Regions from separate parts of the Homo sapiens genome. Here region 1 is linked to region 2. Evidence: promoter capture Hi-C in human tissues and cell types (Jung and others, 2019). All regions are on one chromosome and are shown on one strand. The core of a region is centred on a gene start or on the middle of the fragment in contact, and the rest is flanking DNA. Distances in the headings are between cores, read along the strand shown. Region 1 has its middle 6.8 kb from the start of CHD6. Region 2 holds the start of IFT52 (intraflagellar transport 52).

The links. The method cuts DNA at HindIII sites, captures the fragments that hold promoters and counts their contacts. A contact is called where the count stands out against the background at its distance.
Region 1: a contact is called between a fragment that was not itself captured here and the fragment with the promoter of IFT52 in region 2, in 1 of the 25 tissues and cell types used here (dorsolateral prefrontal cortex).

The regions. Positions count from the first base shown.
Region 1 is chr20:41,622,349-41,628,054 of GRCh38, reverse strand. No RefSeq gene overlaps it. Among named protein-coding and RNA genes, the nearest start is that of CHD6, 6.8 kb to the right of the region's middle. The HindIII fragment of the contact is 4,539 bases long and covers 787-5,325 here.
Region 2 is chr20:43,586,941-43,592,727 of GRCh38, reverse strand. It overlaps IFT52 (intraflagellar transport 52), which reads right to left and starts at 1,791. Exons shown (of 14, transcript NM_016004.5): 1 at 1,674-1,791. RefSeq lists an enhancer at 1,600-1,669. The HindIII fragment of the contact is 21,857 bases long and covers 1-5,787 here.

The DNA of each region.
Region 1 (5,706 bases), core at 1,807-4,306, 2.0 Mb after region 2:
TTGTTTAAAAGTGTGTAGCACTTCCCCTTTCTCTTTCTCTCTCTTTCTCTCTCTCTCTCCTGCCGCCACGTGAATATGTGCTTGTTTCTCCTTTGCCCGTCCACCATGATTGTAAGTTTCCTGAGGCCTCCCCAATCATGCTTCCTGTCCAGCCTGCAGTAATGTGAGTCAATTAAACCTCTTTTCTTGCTAAATTACCCAGTCTCAGGTAGTTCTTTATAGCAGTGTGAGAACAGACTAATACAGCATGTTTGCTGAATGGGACTGAAATGAGTCATAGAATAACCTAAAATATCTGGATGTAGATCATATGTTAAGAAAACACTTAAAATGTGGGGCAAATTTATACAAAGCACATTTTAAATATACAGTAACTTAATGATGGCTGTCAGTTGTATCACCCAAGGAAATACTGTTATCTATTGCTGCATTACAAATTATCTCCAAAGCTTGGTGGCTTAAAAACAACAATAAACATTTATTATCTCACATAGTTTTCATAGGTCAGAAATTTGAGAGTGACTTAGGTTTTCATGAGGTTGCAGTCAAAATGTTGGCTGGGGATGGATGCAGTCTCATCTGAAGGCTTGACTAGGCATGGAGGATCTACTTCCAAGATGGCCCATTCACATGGTTCCTGACAAGAGGCCTTGAGTTCTTGCCACAAAGACTTTTTCCATAAGGCTGACTGAATGTCCTCATGTCATGACAATGGACTCTTCCCATTGCAAATTACCCAAAACAGCAAGACAGATGCTGCAATGCCATTTATGACTAGCATTGGAAGTTACACTCTGTCACTTCTGCAATATCCTACTGGTTACATACATAAATCAGGTCTATTCAGTACAGGAGAGGGCAGTATAAGGGTTTGAATCACAGCAAGTGAGTATCACTGGGGGCCAACTGGAAGGACAGTTACCATGCTTCACCTCAGCAAAAACATGGAAACTAATTAATTTTTTAAAACTATAGTTTTTTGTTTCTAGTATGTAAAACTGTGTTGCTTATTTTTATTACCAGTTTTCAGACGGTAGCCTCACCAAATTGGTCAGTAATGTTGATGGTAGAATTGCACACATAAAGAAAAGGATTCTACAGCAACTTGAGGCTTAGTAAAAAGCTTAAGAACTTTTTTGTTGCTGTGGTTTTTTTTGTTTTTTTTTTTTTTTGTTTGTTTGTTTGTTTGTTTTTGGAGACAGAGCGTTGCTCTATTGCCCAGGTTGGAGTGCAATGGTGCTATCTCAGCTCACTGCAACCTCCGCCTCCCAGGTTTAGGTGATTCTCCTGCCTCAGCCTCCCAAGCAGCTGGGGTTACAGGCGCACACCACCATGCCCAGCTAATTTTTGTATTTTTAGTAGAGACAGGGTTTCACCATGTTGGCCAGGCTGGTCTCGAACTCCTGACCTCAAGTGATCCACCCGCCTTGGCCTCCCAAAGTGCTGGGATTACAGGCATGAGCCACAGCGCCCGGCCTTAAGCAAGTTTTTATGGCTGAAACTGTCTAATGGTCATTGCAGGAAAGTACACTGCTGAGCAAGAATGAAGGATTTACGAAGCTGTTTCAGGGTAGCGTGACCAGCGTTTTTGAAAAATCCTGCCCAAGAACATTTGAGGTGTGATTTTCCATAAATCATAGTAACTGAAAGGGACCACAGTCATTTTTATATATAACCTTGGATTTAAAAAATCAAAATAGCGGTAGTGCTATACATGGGTGAGAGTGAGAGCTCTGTGGCACTGTAAGAGTTAAATCAGTGAGATTAATACATGAGGGGTAGAGGCCATATATCAGTAGAAGGCACTCCAAAAGACAGAAGGTTCCCCAAGCCAAACACAAGAACAGAGATTGACTTCAGTTAAATCAATGGAATTAATATGTTTCAAAACCTGCAGGTCGACAAAGGGGGAAAGTCTATACAGAACACGGGGAAATGGGAGGCAGAGGAAAGGCTGCGATAATTATATATTAATAACCAATTTGTTGAGCAGTTGCCATGTGCAAAGCACTTTGCATGAATCATTTAATCCACACAACAACCCTATTATTGGAATCATGAAACTGTAAGTTAAGTGACTTTCTTTTTTTTTCTTTTTTTTGAGATGGAGTCTCACTCTGTCACCCAGGTTGGCATGCAGTGGCACAATCTTGGCTCACTGCAACCTCCATCTCGCAGGTTCAAGCAATTCTCCTGCCTCAGCCTCCTGAGTAGCTGGGATTACAGTGGTGTGTGCCACCAAGCCCAGCTAATTTTTCCATTTTTAGTAGAGACAGGGTTTCACCATGTTGGCCAGGCTGGTCTCAAACTCCTGACCTCGGGTGTTCCACCCACCTCAGCCTCCTAAAGTGCTGTGATTACAGGCATGAGCCACCATGCCTGGCCTGTTAAGTGACTTTCTTAAGGACACTAGTGGTAGAGCTGAGATTTGAACCACATCTGTAGGGCTTCAAAGCCTGTGGGCTTAACTAGTCTTATCCAGCTTTGTGCTGGAGAATGGAGCTTCTGGCAGGAGGATGCCTTGTGGCAGATTCACCCCTACAGTAGAGATACAGGGATTGGACCAGTGTAGTTCCAGAATACTGGCTATTAGCATCATCCCCTCAGTTCCAGGTTCCAGAAATCACCTTCTGATCATGTCTCCTCTTCCCACAGAGAGAGAACAAGGTCAGGGTCTGACAAGACAGGCTGGGCTGCTTGGCAGGTACAATTCTCAAGGGAACTAAAAAGGATATTTTTAAGATGTTTAATCATGAAATATTTCAAACATACAGAAAATAATATAAGAGATGGGCCGGGAGCAGTGACTCATGCCTGTAATCCCAGTGTGTGGGGAGGCCAAGGCAGAAGGATTGCTTGAGTCTAGGAGTTTGAGACCGGCCTGGGCAACACAGCAAGATCCTGTCTCTGAAGAAAAAAAAAAAGAGAGAGAGAGAGATGACTGAAAAGGTACCTTTACTGACAGTGCGTTGTGCTTGCTTCACAGTTTTCAAAAACTCTGAGAGATTAAAACACAGAGACTTTATCTAAGCACAAATAGGCCCAAGACCAGTGTGTCTATAAACTGGCTCAGACATGTTTGCAAGGGCAGCATTATTGGAAATAAGTATATGGCTTCTTAAGATATTACTTTGAAAGACAGAAATCAGAGTGACTACATTCTCACACACTTCAGAACTCAGCTCAAGGGCAGCTTTCCTGACCTCCTTGACAAAGGCAGATCCTTCTAGCATAATCTCTCACAGCATCTTATACCCCTCCTTTATAGCACACACTTACCACTGCTGTGATGTTACGTTTGTTCGCATGACTACTGGACTAATGCCTTTCTCTTCTATAGACTGCAAGCTCCATGAGGGCTGAGTTTGTGTCAAATTTTATTCACTACTGTATCCTTGGCATCTAGCACAATACTTGTCAGTAATAGGCACTCAATAAATGTCTTTTCAGTGAACGAATTCAGTTTTAAACACCAGTCTCCTTAGGCATCTACCCAAGAGAAATGACAACATATGTCCACACAAGGACTTCTACTTGAAGGTTTATAGCAGCATTATTCATAATAGTCCCAATGTGGAAACAATCCGAATGTCCATCATTTAGTAAGTGATAAATAAAAGGTGGCATATGCAGACAATGGAGTGGCATATGCAGACAATGGAATGCCATTCAAGCAATTTTAAAAAGTACAAACTGACAAAACACTCTACAACACAATGAACCACACAATTATTACATTAAATAAGCCAGACACAGAAGACTACATATTGTACTATTCTGTTTATACGAAATTTCTCAAAAAGGCAGAACTCCAAAGAAGAAAGCAGATCAATGGTTTCCCAGGCCTGGGGGTGGGAGTGGAGATTGACAGCAAGAGGGAACAAGGAACTTCTGAGGGTGACAGAAATATTCTAAAACTGGATTGTGGTGATGGTTGCACAACTGTATAAATTTACTAAACATCGTCAAACTGTATACTTGCAGTAAGCAAATTGTATGGTATGTGAATTATACCACAATAAAGCTGCTAAAAATGTTTAAAAAATCAATCTCCTTACTTAGTCATTTTATCCCAATTTAGGTTCTGTGGAACATTATTTCTGTGGGGCATTATGCCAGAAACTGCTAGTTGAGTCTCTCAACTCTTTAGTGACAGACCCAATTTTTAACTTGGCACATAGAAAAGCAAAATAAAAGACCAGATTTCCTAGCCTCCTTTGCAGCTTGGCATGGTCATGTGACCAAGTTCTGGACAATGAGACAAAAGTAAAATGTGTAGTATTTCCAGGAAGGTTGTTTAAGGGACTCAACTCCACTTTTTCCACTTTGCCTTTCCTTTTTCCTTCCAAGGACATGTAGACTGGTGCTCCAGCAGCCATCTTGGACCATGAAGTGACCTTGGGAATGAAAGCTAAGGATAATGGAGCAAAAACATTGAAGCCTGGATTCCTGAAGGTACCGGACAGCTGCCATGCCACCCCTGGACGGCCTGCTTCCCAAATTTCTTTTATTTAAGACAGAAATAAACTTTAATCTTATTATATCATTTTCTCATATTTATGCAGCCAAATTGAGTCCTAAGTGATACCAGTTTTTTTGTTGTTTTTTGTTTTTTGTTTTGTTTGTTTGTTTTTTTGAGATGGAGTCTCACTCTGTCGCCCAGACTGGAGTGCAGTGGTGCAATCTCGGCTCACTGCAAGCTCCCTTTCCCAGGTTCACGCCATTCTCCTGCCTCAACCTCCCAAGTAGCTGGGACTACAGGCGCCCACCACCATGCCCGGCTAATTTTTTGTATTTTTAGTAGAGACAGGGTTTCACCATGTTAGCCAGGATGGTCTCGATCTCCTTACCTCATGATCCACCCACCTCGGCCTCCCAAAGTGCTGGGATTACAGGCATGAGCCACCGCGCCTGGCCGTGATACCAGTTTTAATAGGTGTTCAATGAAAAAAGGGTTCTGTGGTCAAATAATTTTGAGAACTATTACATTAAACTTTAACAGATTTCATTAATGTAGGACCTCTCAGGGTTTTTAATATGTGAACAGAAATCTCCAAGAACCTCCAGGAGGGGCTACAGTATACTCAACTTCCCAAACTAACTTGTCCCCAAAACCTCTTTTTAGTGGAACATCTTATGGGACAAATAACTTGGGAAGAATGAAATGCTGCTTTAAAAATTTTTTGTATTTCTGACTCTCCCTTTCTAATCCATCCTTTTCCAGGTAGCTAGAGAGATATTTGTTAAAGATAAACTTGATGACATCACATTCTTGTTTTAAATCCTTGAATGATTCCTGTAGGATAAATTTCAAACTCCTTCATGTAACATACAAGACTTTTTGTGATCTGACCCTTGCCTTCTCTCTAGCCTCACCCTAACCATATCCATGACCCTTCTGCTGGGCTGAGAACAGACTCTATTTTCCCTAGTTTCTCTACCTCTACACATGCTACACCTCCTTCATGGAACACTTTCCACTTGCCACCTTGCTTGGCATTCTACCTCTGATCTTTAAGACCAGGCTCAAGTATCAGCTCATTCACTCTTGTCCATATTTCAAGAAATGCCTACTATGTGCCACGCATTGCAATTGTGCTTGAGTTACAAGCACAGTCCCTGCCCTGGAGTGACACGGAATCACATGAAGTTAGACAAGTACTGTATCAGACAGGTAACAGACAACCTTCACATTTCAGTGACTTG
Region 2 (5,787 bases), core at 542-3,041:
GATTTTAAATTTTATAGAGTTAAAAGTATGAATCTTTTCCTTCCTGGCTTCTGGATGACATGAAACACTTAGAAGAGTTTTTTGTCATTCTAAGATTATAAATAAATTCAACAATGCTTTACTTCAGTACTTCATGATGTAATTTTTTTTTTTTTTTGAGAGAGTCTGCTCTGTGGCCTAAGCTGGAGTGCAGTGGCACGATCTCGGCTCACCACAACCTCTGCCTCCCAGATTCAAGAGATTCTCGTGCCTCAGCCTCCCAAGCGGCTGGGACTACAGGCGCCCAAACACACCCGGCTAATTCGTGATGTAATTTTTTAACATTTAAATTTTAGTCCATTTGGAAATTATTGTGGTGCTCAAAATGGGCTTCATTCCTTTTTTTTTTCCTTCTTTTTCAAAGCATAGTCTTGCTCTGTCACCCAGGCTGGAGTGCAGTGGTGCAATCTCGGCTCGCTGCAACCTCCGCCTCCCAAGTTCAAGCAATTCTCCTGCCTCAGCCTCCCCAGTAGCTGGGATTACAGGCGCGCGCCATAGTAGAGACGGTGTTTCACCAGGTTGGCCAGGCTGGTCTGGAACTCCTGACCTCAAGTGATCCACCCGCTTTGGCCTCCCAAAGTGCTGGGATTACAGGTGTGAGCCACCTCGCTCGACTGGTTTAATTATTTTCTAAATTGCTAAAAAAGCTGCCTGACCCCAATTCATCTCTTCAATGCTGATTTGAAATACAGTACCACCTCGCCTATATAATAAATCCCTATATATAAATCGCTCTTATTCTGAGTTCTAATATATTTTATCTACCTGTAAGCTCCTGCTGAGTCCCAAACTTTTTAAATTAATTTATTTATTTTCAGAGACAGGGTTTCCTTTTGATACCCATGCTGGTCTCTGACTCCTGGGCTCAAGGGATCCTGCCGCCTCAGCCTACCAAGTAGCCAGGACTACGGGCCCACACTGCTGCACCCATCTTCTATGCTAGTTTAATTGCTATACCTTTATGTTATAATATCTGGTGGTTCTGGAGAGCTAATCTCCCTTATTAGCATTAATTTTAGAATTTTCCTGGCTACTTTCACATATTTATCCTTCTTTAAGCACTTTAACATCATTTTGTCCAGTTGAAAAACTGCCCCCTCCATGGTCCCACCACCGTGATACATCTATCTTTTTTTGTTCTGTTAGTTCAGCCCCTGGTGAGAGTAGCAGGTCTGCGTTCCTGTACTGTCAGACTTAGCCAGAAATGCATTTCCTTAATAATAGTATAAGGCCTTTAAAACTATAAAAATAACAAATATTTGGGTAACGCTGCCAAACCATTCTCTCGCTTTCTCTTCAATAACATTACCAGTCAAATCAGTATTTTCCCACATGAATACCGAGGGGTCGCAGCCACGACAGAAGAGAGATTAAGACTGTACGATTCCTCGTCCCATGCTCTTTCATAGTCAGCGGAACGACTAAACACCTGCACCACCCGAGGCCGTGGAGATGGGCGCCCAGCCGGGGCGCCAGGAACCCGGGCTACGTCCGCGCCCACAGTTTACTTCACCCCGGGGGACCCTGGATGTTCTATGACCGGCCCAGCGGCCTCGAAGAGTGCGGCGAGTCCCTCGCCAGCTCCCAGGCCGCACCAACGCCCCAGCCGGCCCACCACTGTTGGCGCCCTTTACCTGAGGCCCAGCGACCACCGCTCACCTGACGCCGCCCAGCATCCCGCGGCCAGGTATCCAAGGCCGCTTAGTAACCGGAGAGGCGCGTCGGTGCGCCGGGAGGCGTGGCCCAGGACGCAGCGCTAGCTCCGGCCGACGTGATGACGACAGCACGGAAGGCGCCTCTCCGTCGCAGGCGTCAGGGGTAGGCAGCCTGACTGATGTGGGGCTGTACCATTTGGTGCATGAGGGGCAAATCCAAACATAAGGAGAATTAACTTTTCACCAAAAATAAACCCATTTAATTTTGTTCTTTAGTATCAATTACGAGTAAAGACTAATAACAACGGTAGGACCCAAGTGCCCAAACTTCGCTCCACCCACAGGGAGGAGAATAGTGAAGGCTTCCAGCGCGGGGGGGTTGGAGAACGCCCCAGCTTCGATTCCCAAAGCGCAGGAGCAGAGTGGAGCCAGGCGAGGGCGGGGCCGGGCGGAAGGCTGTGCTGGACTATTAGGAACTACTTAACGGAAAAGGGTGCGCAGGTTTAGTGTTGAGAATGATAAACCGTATAATTCTGTTTTATTAACTCCGCATCTTTGCTTGCCATGGTACTAGGCTTGAGCGCCGGCGAGCATGGCGGGGAGTTAGAACTTGAATAGATTCTACAAAAATGTGAAAACTATGAACTGTATTAGGGAGTCTAACGACTAAGCTGGTCAAAAAGGCGCCCCTGTTGAGCAGAGATTTGAAGAGAGAGTGGTATTCATTAAGGCAAAGGCTGGGGAAGGGCGTTCCCGGCAGAAAGAACTGCTTGTGCAAAAGCACCACCAATACAGGTTGCCCTGCCATCGCCATTAAGATGGGAAACCAGAAGCCTGCAACTACCAACAGGCCACCCGACTACCCAGGAAAGCGCTCTGTGCCTGCCTTTAGAGGTGTGTGGATTTGTGAACAACGCTGCAGCAGCCTGGAAGACCCAAACTGAAGATTGCAGAGAGCTCTGACAGTTTTTATTTACATTTATGTTTGTCTTCGAATCTAGGATATTAAAACACATACAACTCGTGTTGCTTTCCACAATTTCTGTCACTGGAAATTTTAAAAGTGGAGACGGGCCGGGCGCAGCGGCTCTCTCCTGTAATCCCAGCACTTTGGGAGGCCGAGGCAGGTGGATCTCTTTAGCCCAGGAGTTTGAGGCCAGCCTAGGCAACATGGCGAAACCCGGTATCTACTAAAAATAGGAAAAATTACCTGGGCGTGGTGGCGCGCGCCTGTAGTCCCAGCTGCTTGGGAGACTGAGGTGGGAGGATTGATTGATTGATCCTAGGAGGTTGAGGCTGCAGTGAGCCGTCATGGTGCCGCCGCACTCTAGCCTAGGCAACACAGTGAGACCTTGTCTCAAAAAGAAAGTGGAGAACAGGGTGATTTGAGAATTCTCTTTGGTCAGATGAAGTGGCTTCTGCCTGTAATCCCAGCATTTTGGGAGGCCAAGGTGGGAGGACTGCTTGAGGCCAGGAGTCTGGGACCTGGGTAACAGTAACACCTTTTCTCTCCAATAATAATAGTAATAATAAATAAAAAAAGAAAATTAGCCAGGCATGGTGGCACACACCTGTAGTCTTAGCTACTTGGGAGGCTGAGGTGGGAAGATCGCTGGAACCCAGGAGTTCGGGCTGCAGTGAGCCATGATCGCTCCACTGCACCCCAGCCTGGGCAACAGAGTGAGACTCTGTCTCTTAAAAAAAAAAAGTTCTCTTCTTGGGGATGCTGTATTTTGGTGCAGAATTGGGTGAATACAGTTTGCAGTTAGGGTAATAATGGAAATGAAGTATTCTCACTGAAGAGAGAGTAGGCCGTCCCATTTGAAGGCTGGGACAAATCTTGGGATCTTTCTGCCTGATATGCAGTCAGTGTTTGCTACAGCACCTGCCCAGAGCATTTCTCCCACTGTTAGAGATTGCAGAAAGAGTAAGAGTTTTGGCCGGGTGCAGTGGCCCACGCCTGTAATCCCAGCACTTTGGGAGGCCAAGGCAGGTGGATCACTTGAGGTCAAGAGCTCGAGACCAGCCTGACCAACATGGTGAAACCCCGTCTCTATAAAAAATAAAATAAAAATAAAAATACAAAAAATTAGCCGGGTGTGGTGGCGGCCGCCTGTAATCCCAGCTGCTTGGGAGACTGAGGCAGGAGAATCACTCGAACCCAGGAGGCAGAGGTTGCAGTGAGCTGAGATTGCGCCATTGCACTCCAGCCTGGGCAACAAGAGCATAACTCCGTCCCCGCTTCCCCCCCCAAAAAAGCAAGAGTAAGACTTTTAGAATCAGTAGTTGTCACCAAGTTCAATTCCTCGCTGTGACTTGTACCAGCTGGGTGACCTTGGGCAGTTTTCATAATCTCTGAGCAAATGTATCCTATCTGTAAAGCGAAGTTAATAATTTCTTTCTTTCTTTCTTTTTTTGCCGAAACTGAGTCTTGCTCTGTTGCCCAGGCTGGAGTGCAATGGCATGATCTCCGCTCACTGCAACCTTCGCTTCCTGGGTTCAAGCAATTCTCCTGCCTCAGTCTCTCAGGTAGCTGGGATTACAGGCACCCGCCACCATGCCCGGCTAATTTTTGTATTCTTAGTAAAAACGGGGTTTCACCATTTTGGCTAGGCTGGTCTTGAACTCTTGACCTCGTGAATTGCCTGCCTTGGCCTCCCAGAGTGCTGGGATTACAGGCGTGAGCCACTGCGCCCAGTCTGAAGTTCATAATTTCTAAATGCTGGCTTATAGTGAGGATTGTAGATAATGCATATAAAACTTGGAATGTGCTCAATAAACATAGGTTGTAGCATGTTCCATTCAACAGCATAGTTTTTCATTTTTATTTTTTATCCTGATGAAAATAATTGTGCTTTTACAATCTCAGAACAGATAGAACCATTATATGTTTCACCGTCCACAGCTGATTGTGTGCTTCTGACACTACTATTACGTTTCTGATCATTATACTCCTGTTTTTTTGCTTTGGGAAGTTAGGGGGATTTTGACCTCTCCCTCATCTTGTCCCAAATTTGTCAATTATCTGGCACTATTAAGATGGAAATCAGTGTGTATCTTTCAGCGTTCTTAGCACATGTGAAAGCTTAACATGAACTCTTCCTGACCCAGTTTTGATCTCTAATAGCTCAGTGTCATTGGTGTTTTTTCTGTGGTCTCCCAGACTTCTTCCCCGTGATTCCTGGGGCAGGAGGCTGGGTGAACAAGACTTGAGGAAGGGAAAGAGTGGGATTGAATTAAGAGGAAAAGGCAATAAAATCACCAGCACACACTGATCCAAGAAAGTTCCTTCCCTTGTCTCCCAACCAAAAAAGCTAATAAGGCCACCCAGGAGTATGAACCACACATTTGTAAAAAAACAAACCACTTTTCGTATTTATTTATTTATTAATAAGACAGTCACACTCTGTCGCCCAGGCTGGAGTGCAGTGGCACGATCTTGGCTCACTGCAACCTCTGCCTCCCGGGTTCAAGTGATTCTCGTGTCTCAGCCTCCCGAGTAGCTGGGACTACAAGCATGCACCACCACACTCAGCTAAATTTTTGTATTTTTAGTAGGGACAGGGTTTCACCATACCGGCCGGGCTGGTCTACAAACTCCTGACCTCGGCCTCCCAAAGTGCTGGGATTACAGGTGTGAGCCAGCACGCCCAGCCGAAACGAACCACTTTTCCACTGAAGTAAGGAAGCACAATCCATCCCACAAGTGCAGGGTGTTCTGAATTTATGAGGTGTTACCGCTCACGTTCTGTCCGATCAGAATTATCTTTAGAAATGACTAATCTTGGCTGGGTGCGGTGGCTCACGCCTGTAATCCCAGCACTTTGGGAGGCCGAGGTGGGCGGATCATCTGAGGTCGGGAGTTGGAGACCAGCCTCACCAACATGGAGAAACCCTGTCTCTACTAAAAATACAAAATTAGCCAGGCCTGGTGGCGCATTCCTGTAATCCCAGCTACTCAGGAGGCTGAGGCAGGAGAGTTGCTTGAACCTGGGAGGCGAAGGTTGCGGTGAGTCGAGATCGTGCCACTGCACTCCAGCCTGGGCAACAAGAGCAAAACTCAGTCTCAAAAAAAAAAAAAAAAAAAAGACTA